2 separate regions of the Homo sapiens genome follow, and region 2 is linked to region 1. Evidence: promoter capture Hi-C in 16 types of primary human blood cells and fetal thymus (Javierre and others, 2016). All regions are on one chromosome and are shown on one strand. Each heading gives the region's core, a stretch centred on a gene start or on the middle of the fragment in contact. The rest is flanking DNA. Distances are from core to core; before and after follow the strand shown.

Region 1 (4,877 bases), core at 1,929-4,428:
CCATTACTTCTCTGGGTCAGTTAGGACATGTTCTCTTTGAATATCTCTAAATTAATTGAACCATCATTAATCACCAGTGATTACTAATGGAAGACAATGATGTTAAAATGGGATGTATCTAAAATCTTGTGACAAACTCTCCTGCTATACTTCATTTGTCTACAATTTAAGAATTCAATTTTCTTGAAAAAAGTTATATTTACACACTACAGAATTTTCTTAATCTTTATTAAATCATTACCTCTTTAAAGTTGATGGAAATCTTGGCAAACTCCAAAGTAGAGATTAAAACGGTACTGAATGCCTCTTTTTTGGTGGCAAATTGGTAGGTTAAGTTGGAATATTTTTACAACCTGGCATTGGCGTATATGTTTGTCAATCTAAGGATTTCTGTATTGGTTTGGTCAAAAATTCCAAATAAGTAGGTTTTTTCAGCTATATTTTAAAGTAGGATCAATGCCACCCATAAGTAATAAACTATAACTTTTAAGATCAATAAACAAAACAAAACAATAATATTTTATTAGTACAGATTGCTGTCAACCCTGCTAAATTAGTAAGAGATGGAAATGATTCAAAAAAAGGTATAGCTGGTTATGGCAGGCTCTGCAAAGCAATGAATGAAAGAGATCTGTGTTAACATTTTCCCCAATCTACCTTTCCCAGTTGCTGGGTGAGAGAGTGCAAACACATAAAATATTCGGTCTCTGTGCCTAAGCGTTGATACTCAGCTTCAAGTCAGCACCAGTTAGAATATAATTACTATTTGGAACCAACATGTCATTTTAGGTGTACTAATTGTATAAATTAGTTTTAAGTGCAACTGACATTGTATATAATTACATTTTGGCCAAATCTAGCATGCTTGCTTTGTCATGCCTAATGATTAAATGATCACTTCCTTATCCTTACATGAAATGGGAAAATATTTTATTTATTTTTCTTCCTCACACAATTGATTTGCATAATGCCTAATGATGCCTAATGATGTGTTTACTATATATTGCTCCAAACAAGCCAAAACAGTCATTTTTATGGAGAAAAATCATCAAGTTCAGAGGAAAGCCTAGGCTACCATTTTGATACCTACAACTAGTTCATCTGATAATATTCCCCGGGCAGCCAGATGCCCCAGAGAAACAAGATACAGGTTTTTTTGTTTTTAATCAAATGACTCACCCACAATGACAGCGGTGACTGTGAGCAGCACAAAAGCATTCCGAAACAGGTAACTTTTAACATCCTCCTTTGTAATGTTCTGCACTTTCTTCTTGGCCAAAAGTGTGCGTTTACGGACTCCCTGCTGGAATCTCTCCATCCTGCCCCCCATCTTGGGCTCTTCTCCATTGCTTTTAGTCATATTTTACTTTTCTAGGAGGGTCTCTTCTTTGCACTTCAGTGTCTGGGAATCACCCACAGAAAGCCAAACCTCCTCTTTGGTATTAGAAAACACAACTAGAATGGGAGAAAAAGAGACATGAGTTATAGCCTCCAGGGGTGAGAAATCAGTGCTGCTCCACACCAGGCAAGCTCTTGGCAAATTGCATAATCTCAGCAGGAATCAAGGACTGGAGAGCCACAATACCAGACCTCAAGGTTGCAGTGTGCATATTTTAGTGGACCACGTGTGAGAAATGTGCATAAATTCGGAATATATTCTATTTTCTTTTTAAAAATCCGTCCTTCCCCTTCCAATGAGGCTATAAAAGGGTTCTTCAGAGCTAGATCTGACTGAGAACCCCTATTCCCACCCTCCCCCGCAGAACCCAGCTGATGCCTTGCACAACGTACACAATCAGTAAATGTCCAATTGAACTGAATGCACAGAAAGTATTCAATCATTACTTGACAAATTATGCTGTATACATGGTTGAAAGCATAACCAGGTCAATAAAAATAATTAAGATACTGATAGGTGGGAGTTGTCTCTGTTACATGCAGTAAAGTAACCAGCTATTTTCTTCATTAAGAAAAAAATATAATAATATCTACTAGTAAATATGGTCATAAAAAGAACACAAGTGCCCACAGTACATGGGAAATACATGTGACTATTTTACAGGGTAATTTTTTCATTTTTTTTCCATGAAATAAGCAAAGTGCTCTGGGCACATCTATAAATCATCTGAAATCACAATTCAGCTTCGTTTATCACAAGTAGAAGTATGAAGTAGTGTTTTTCTTTGTGACACACATGCTGGAATCTTCCGAGGAAACTATCGCTGACTTTTTAGCGTTTTAAAATTTAGGATTTCTAGAACAGATGAGATGAAACCAATTTTCATTCCAAACATTACAGCTTGTGGTTTCTGGTTTCTTTAAAGCACTCACGCTATTTAACTACATTTCAGTAAATCTCTTTCCTGGTGGAAATCAGCTGTTCTGAAAAATCAAGGGATTCCTCCTGGTGCTTTACAGGAGCTCTAATCCATAGCCCTTCCCATAATCAATCCGAGTGAAAACCAGCCGTACCATGGATGTGTGTCGCTGCCAACGCAAGCAGCCAGCGTGTGCGCCTGTGGGGGAGGTAACTGGAAACCAAAGGACTCCTCGCAAATGACTTCTCGCAATCCCAGTGCAGGAAAAAAAAAGACTTGTCTTAACAGTTTGCCTTTTAAATAAAATTGCAAGTTGGGGTCAGTGATACTAAGACTTCTAATTTGTTTAAGACTTCACACTGGATTAAATGCTTAGGGAGAAGTGAAGACCGGGAAATAGGAGAGACCAGATTTTTTTTTTTTTTAAACTAATAGCTCTGATTCCTCTTACCAGTCACTTTTAAGCAGATCCGCTCAACCTTGATCCTTTTCTAGATCTCGCGCCACAATCTGCCCCCAATCCACCCCGAATGACTCAACTCCGAATTAACAGCGGACCCGGCATAAACAGACACCACACTCTCACGACGTGAGATGACTAACAAGGACTTTATCTACCAAAATGGCTAGCCTTGATTCAGGCTACTCCTCTGCTTGGAAGGCAAAATACATCGGCAGAGAAGTGAAAGGAGAAATTAAACCCAGCAGGAACACAGAATGTGACACTTACCTTTTCTGATTTTGTAAGGGGTGGAAGATATCAAGCAGTAACGAGGTGAATTCCCCAGCAGGTACAACGGAGCAACAATCCGCAGCGCGCGTAAGCAGGCAGGCTAGCCCTGACAGTGTGCATGTGCTCTGAAACTGCAAGTTACTATCAGGGCAACTTAAGAAAAGGGGAGGAGTCTGTGCCCGGGAAAGGAGGAGTGGGGAATGGAAACCGCACAGGGAGGAGGGGGAAACCCCGAGGTTTCTGGAATATTGATTAATCTTGGCACACCAGAAGCAGGCTTGCTGGCTTTGTTTTGCTCCTTAGACCACTTTCACGCTTTGTCAGTTCACTGTCATTAGAAATGCAAAACCGGGACTAGGAAGAATTGAAAAATAAAGCGCACACAATCGGAAAGCTGAAAGTCTTGATTAGAACGTTTCAAAGACTTTTCTAAGGCTAAATTTAATTACCTCACATTATTGCATGTTTCCTCCCTTTCAGGGAAGACGAGGGTGTGCTCTTTAGCCTGGTTGTACAACTGTTACGAGAAAGTTCCTTTTTCGAATCGGGGAATTAACTGACGTTTCTTGGGAAGACACTGAATGCAGACAAGTATGTAGAAAAAAAATAATGCTTACTACGATTCTCTAAATTTGTCTAAAGTTAGGGACATGCCTCTATTTCAGCAGTTGAAACTTCAAAACTTCATTTTAACAAACCTAATTTAGCTCACACTGCCTGTGTTGCAAAGACGGAAAAGGTAGCAAATGTAAAGAGACTGGAATTTTTGCCAAACTAGAAAATGAAAAGCATTTTAAGACCAAGAGTGCAAAGTACACTTGAGATTTGGTGATTCAAAAGATAGGTTGCTGTTCAGATGTCTCCATTTTAAAGGATGCTAAATGTTCTCCCTACCACACACAACTTTTTTAGAGCTAAAAAATTCTCATTGCCTTGAGAAGGTAACTTGAGCTTCTAGTCCACTTTTCTTAAAAGAAAAATAAATTGTGAAAATAGATATTAGAAAATAAAAAAAAATTTTTTTGAGGTGACTTATTCCCAAAACTTAAATCTTCTTTAGAAGGAAGAAAATGGTTCATTAGAAACAAAAATTTATACCAGAATCACAGCCTGAGGTTTGGATTCTTGTTCACTGAATTTAATATTCCCCATGCAAAATATGCTCAATTCTTGGTCTATTATTCAACAAGAAAGTATGTCTTTTTTCCCCTCAATACAAATCTCTGGAGATCATAAAGAAATATCTCCTTTCACCCTCAACTGTATGTCCTTTTAAACAGCTACTGGTTGGAAAGCAATGGTGAATCATGTCAATGCTTTAAAATTACAAATCAGCAGCAATTATAACAGCTTTCTAACATGCTATCATTTTAAGAACTTACTGAAAGTACATGCTTTTGACATTCCCAGCCCTCAGTGACCCTTCCCTTCCTCTGATCTCCTAGGTCACTGAGCATCTATACTACATTGTTTAGCACTTAATTATACCATGTTTTGTACTGCATCCTTCTTTTTAAGCTCATGTTAAGTTTTGGTTTCTCAACTAAATTATAAGTTCTTTGAGGGCAAGAACTTGTCTTATACCTAATACAGAGTCAATATTAAGTAACTCTTTTTAAGTGGGTGGAATAATATTAGGATGTGAAACAAAACGCTTTTCAATCTTTTGTGTTAAAACACAATTACTAGTTTTTACATTGGTGCCTCTGGTTTAGGTGCATGGAGCCATTTCTCAATGCCATGACTACTTTTAAAAGCATTTATTTACTATACCAGGTCCTATCTGAGCCATGAGTTTAGGATTAATTTGCACACCCCCCCCCCCC
Region 2 (5,296 bases), core at 1,366-3,865, 210 kb after region 1:
TTTCCTTGCCAGAACCTTTTGCTTTTCTTACATTACATCAGTATTGACAACCCCATTTCATTTAAAAATATTTCTTATTTATGTGAACTGACTCTAGTTGCCATCCACCAATGTGGATTTCACTATCCACATGGCAACTGCCATGCCACTTAAGCATGGCCTGCTTTAGTCCAGAGCCTCCCAAGCTTGAGTATGCATCAGAATCATCGCTGGATGGTGTGCTCATTTAAAAGTAAGGATTCCAGGTCTTATCCTAGGAATTCTGATCTAGGTGTTCTAGGGTGGGGCCAGGAATTCGCATTTTAACACAGCCTTCCACTGATTCTGATGCAGGTGGTTCCTGACTGCACTTTGAGAGAAGCTGCTAAGGGTACTTTCCATAGAGCCCATCCAGACACACCTGGTGAATCACCCACCTCCCCCAGGCCTGCAACCTGTGCTTGCTAGCATAGGTGAACATTCACAAAGGAAAAAGCAATGGCCAACTGGGGGTTCACTGCCGTGTTTTGGTGCATAACAGAGCACACGGAAGGCATATCCTATTTGGGTCTAGCTCAGCATAAATTCAGGAACCTTCTGGCTAGATAAGATACACAATTCATGGCAAAGGATCCACAATTAAAAGATTAAAATCAGGCTTCCTTTTTGCTTCCTGCAAGCCGATTGGTCATGATGGCATGGAAAAACAGCTACTTGGTGAGGGGTAGACACATAGTGACTGTCTTCATAAGCCAAGGGCTGATTTTGTGGAAGGGGCATTAGTTATCCCGTGTGGCTCTGGAGAAGAACAAGGAGCAGTAAGTAGAAGTTGTAGGGAAGTAGAGTTTAGATCAATGAAAGGAAGTTGATGATTGAAGCTCTTGAAAATGAAGTGGCCTCCACTATGTGGCAGGGAGCCATATTTGTATGTCTGTCATTTGAGAGCCACAATGAAGAGGTTATGTTAGTTAATCAACCGCTTTATGTATCCCACATTTATTGACATAATATGGGGGTAGTAGAAAGAGTCCTGGACTTGGAATCAAACCTGGACTCAAAATCCTGGATCCCTTACTTACTGTGTGGCCATGGGAATGTAATTTAACCTTTGTAAGGTTAGTGTGATAATTGAATAGATAGCATATGTCATCATCTGGCGCTGAGCAGGTAGCACCTGCTCATATGCATTTGCTCCCTGCTGCTTTCTTCTGTGTCTGGCATTGTTCTAGCCATCAGGAAAATAAGGATGAGTAAGACACTGTGTCTCCCCTCCAGGAGCTCCCCAAATAACAGTGGGAGACAACCAGCAACACAAATATGGCTTGAAATTGTAGTTGGTGTAATATAGTGCAATGTGGAAAGGCTAAAGGAGGCCCAGGATCGGGAGGGACTTGCAGGTCTCTGGGAGCTGATGTTTTCTGTCAACTCAGGCTCTTGGTCCTGTCATTTGAATTCTGCTTTCCAACTTGGAATAACTTCCCATCACTGGGAAATGCTAAGGGGCAAAGAGAAATTGTGCTATAAACCAAAGGTAAAATTCCCCTTAGTTATTTGTTTCTTTGAATCCATAAGCCCAGCAAAAGTTTTCTGAGCACCTACTGATGCCAGGCAGCAGCTTGGAATGTGGGACTAATAGACACAATTCTTGGCTGCATGAGGTCCACAGTCTAACTAGGGAGACAGGCAGAGATGGATAAATACACTCAGTCCACAATACCCTAATGTCCATTTCAACCAACAATGTCTTCTTGCTGTTCCACATTATTGTTAGATTTAATATCCTGGGCCAGCAAAACTCACTTTGGCCAACATGGCACTCCCTCTTCTAATGATGCTAAACTCACAATAGAACTTTTTTATTCATGGTTTGGTTCAAAAACTTTATTCTTGGAGCTTTATAATAGTACTATTCAAACTCTTTTGATAATGTATTTTTCTTAGTAAATAATCTTTGAACTTACATATATATATATAAGTTCTTTATATGTATGGCTACTATTAACTAACTTCTCAAGGCACAATATGCACTGCAGGCAAGGTCATCATTAGCAACAACATTTATCAATCTGTATATTAAATCGTCTTGATTACTTCTATTTTAGGACATTCAATTAATTATTAGATGTTATGAGTTGGTCATTTTTTTTCTTTGTATTGTTTCTGAAAGGGTCACATTAGGAGTAAATGAACCTCTGCCATTGTATTTTGATAAGTTTATGAGATCGCATTATTGCAAATATCTTCAACCCACAGTTCCATGTGGAACTCCACTTTGTGAAGACAAGCTTAGTTAAAACAAGATGATGCATTTGTGGAGTCACTTAACTGGGCACACAAAAACTGCAAATGTCTCAGCAGCTCCAAAGCAGAGGAAGGATGAAGGGTGGCTGCCAACCCCACTGCTTTGTGGAAGTTCCACACCTTGCTGAGGACACCTCATGCCTCTCATAGGATCCTGACCTGCTGACGTACAGACAGAATATGTGAGAAATACAGGTAAAGTTGGTTGGTTTTCAAATTTTAGATAAACAGAAATAGAAGTTCCAATTTTTTCTTTCTGCTTCCTGCTGGATGATCTTGTGCTCCCTCAGAGCATATGCTACACACTTGGAGCCGACTCTCCAGTCCATCTTGTTAAAATAAGCAGCTCCACACACAGACTGTGCTCAACAGTAGCCCCCTTGCTTGCCCAGGAACACCATAGAGCTCAGGTGTGTTTCTGCTGTTTCTAATGTAGAAGCATTTTTATGAATGATGGGAAATTTGCTAGTCTTTTCTTATTCCCTTTGTCAATTGCAATTCAGTGTCCAGGAATTATTACCTGATATAAAAATTAAAAATGAACTTCATAGTTTAAAAAAGACATTTTTTAAAAACTCAACTTTGTGGTGGGGGGTAGAGGGAGGGAAGTGAAGGAAAAAGGGGTAGTTCCCTTGACACAGTTTTGGGGTCCATTTTCACGAGAAGAAAAAGGAAAGACAAGCTTTGTACATTAATCATTATATAATATCAAAACATTATTTTATATTAAAATACTCTTGCCATTTAACTCTATACACAAGAACTAAAAATCATTATTTTAGTGAAAGAGAGATGTAGTTCTATATATTCTTTTGTCCTCCTCTATCCCTTTTAGAATGCATCTAGAACAAGCATTCTTAATCTTTTTTGTACCATAAACCCATAGCTGTTTCGTTGTAAACTATAGACAACTTCTCAAAATATTCTTTGTGTGCCAAATATTAATAATATATATAGATTTTCAAAGAAAACCAATTATGCTGAAATATTCAAAAGTCATAAGGTTAAAATAGCAAATATATGAAATACTAATGCACGTGTTTTATACTAACTCATTAAGTAACGAGATCTAATGACAGGTCTATCAGAATTTCAAAGTAATGGTGAGTGTAAACAATACTTTTTGATATCTGCAATAATTATAATGTGATTTTTTAAATCTATAATTTCTACTGTTGACAACATTACTAATAATACTACTATGGTTAGTTGTCCATATTCATAATTGAAGAAAATCCTAAATATTAAATAGCAGTTTATAGAAATAAAAATGCAAGATTTTGCCCATCTAACTTCATGTACCCCTGGCCTTCTCAATAGTGGACCAAGGGAACTAACTTGTGGGTGTAATAGTCACATGCTTTCCAGAAGGTGTCAGACTTGCATTTTGGAAAATTGAAATCTACTTCCTTCTCTAATCCCCCCAAACCAACAAGTCTCCTGACTCACTTTCAAGATAGGTAATCCAGCAGCTGGAATCATTCAAAATTAGATGAAATATGCTTATTTCAAAGACAGACTAAGCACTTCAACAAAACAAATTCTACAAGGGCTAAGAAAGTGCTGTTTAAATGAAGAAGTTTTATAGCAAAGAACCGTCTAAAGAAACAGAATTGTTTTCCGGTCTTTTCAGTATGAAGAAAGGATTTATGTTGTCAGCAAGGATAGACATTGTGAAGTTTCTGAAAATACATCACAGAAAACTTATGGCTGAAGATAGATAATTTATATCCTCGTAGGAGTCCATACAGAGGAGGATTATAGAACAGAAGAGATACTGAAAATCCAGGCTATAGGCAGAGGCTTCTGGATACAAAGCAGGGATTAGGCTATGGCTCTTCCTTTCATCTGAGAATTCTTCACACTCTTCCGGAAAACAAAAGAATTTATTGGAAATCCAGTGCACGGAGTGAAAGATGCTTCCTAAAGAAGTCACTGTTCTTTTATGAACTACATGGGCTTCTAACATATCTAAGGCATATATTATGAATTATTTAGTGGATTTTCTTACATGAATGGGTAATCTACAAATGGGTAGATTCTGATTATGCATGTTGAATTTTGGGGAACTACTTCCCTTTCCCCCTGATTTTTGTATTACAATTTCTGACTGATCTTCATTTGAAAATGAGCCCTGTAATGGTCTGCACTGTTGTTCCAATGATCTGCTGACTCTAGAAAGGACTAATGTCAACTAATGTCAAGCTTGGCCAAGTGACTTGATTTGTTAATGAAATCTAAGCAGCAAGTGACGTGTCAGGCCCAAGCAGAAGTTTTAATAGTCACTGAGTATCTCTGCCATCTCTTTTTCTTTTTCCTCTGCCTTAGGAATGATATATCCCAGATCAAACTGCTTCTTAAGCTCGTGTTATGGAAGAAAAAGACATATGCAACATAATGGCAGCTCACTGCAGCTGAAGTAATATAAGTAAGGAAAAAGCCTTTATTGCTTTAGGCTACTGATGTTTGGAGGTTGGTTGTTTCACAACAAAGCATAGCAAAAACTGATTAATATAGACTCTAACTCTTTAATTTTCCATTTTCTCCCTCCCTTTCCTGGTTCAAGTAGTTATTTTATTATTTTTTTGTTTGAGAAGGAGTCTCCCTCTGTTGCCCAGGCTAGAATGCAGTGGCTCGATCTCTGCTCACTGCAACCTCAGCCTCCTGGATTCAAGAGCTTCTCCAGCCTCAGCCTCCTGAGTAGCTGGGATTACAGGCATGAGACACCAAGCCCGGCTAATTTTTGTATTTTTAGTACAGACAGGATTTCACCATGTTGGCCATGCTGGTCTTGAACTCCTGATCTCAAGTGATCTGCTTCCCTCGGCCTCCCAAAGTGCTGGAATTACAGGCATGAGTCACCGTGCCTGGCCTCAAGTAATCTTGATCTATAAACAAAACAAAAAGACAAATTTATTATGAGTGGCTCTATTTAACAACCACTTCTAAAATAAATAAGAAGGCAAAATCTTATCTTTCTCCTTCTTCAATCTTTCTGTTTCTTTGAAGTTTTATT

Evidence for each region. Contacts are between HindIII fragments. The CHiCAGO score rates a contact against its expected background, and 5 or more counts as called.
Region 2: a contact is called between a fragment that was not itself captured here and the fragment with the promoter of SLC1A3 in region 1, in 1 of 17 cell types (M2 macrophages). The highest score is 5.0, in M2 macrophages.

Annotation. Positions count from the first base shown.
Region 1 is chr5:36,604,907-36,609,783 of GRCh38, reverse strand. SLC1A3 (solute carrier family 1 member 3) reads right to left here and starts at 3,178. Exons shown (of 10, transcript NM_004172.5): 1 at 3,049-3,178; 2 at 1,180-1,455. The coding sequence starts at 1,360. RefSeq lists an enhancer at 2,972-3,071. The HindIII fragment of the contact is 8,493 bases long and covers 1-4,877 here.
Region 2 is chr5:36,396,717-36,402,012 of GRCh38, reverse strand. No RefSeq gene overlaps it. Among named protein-coding and RNA genes, the nearest start is that of RANBP3L, 97 kb to the right of the region's middle. The HindIII fragment of the contact is 698 bases long and covers 2,267-2,964 here.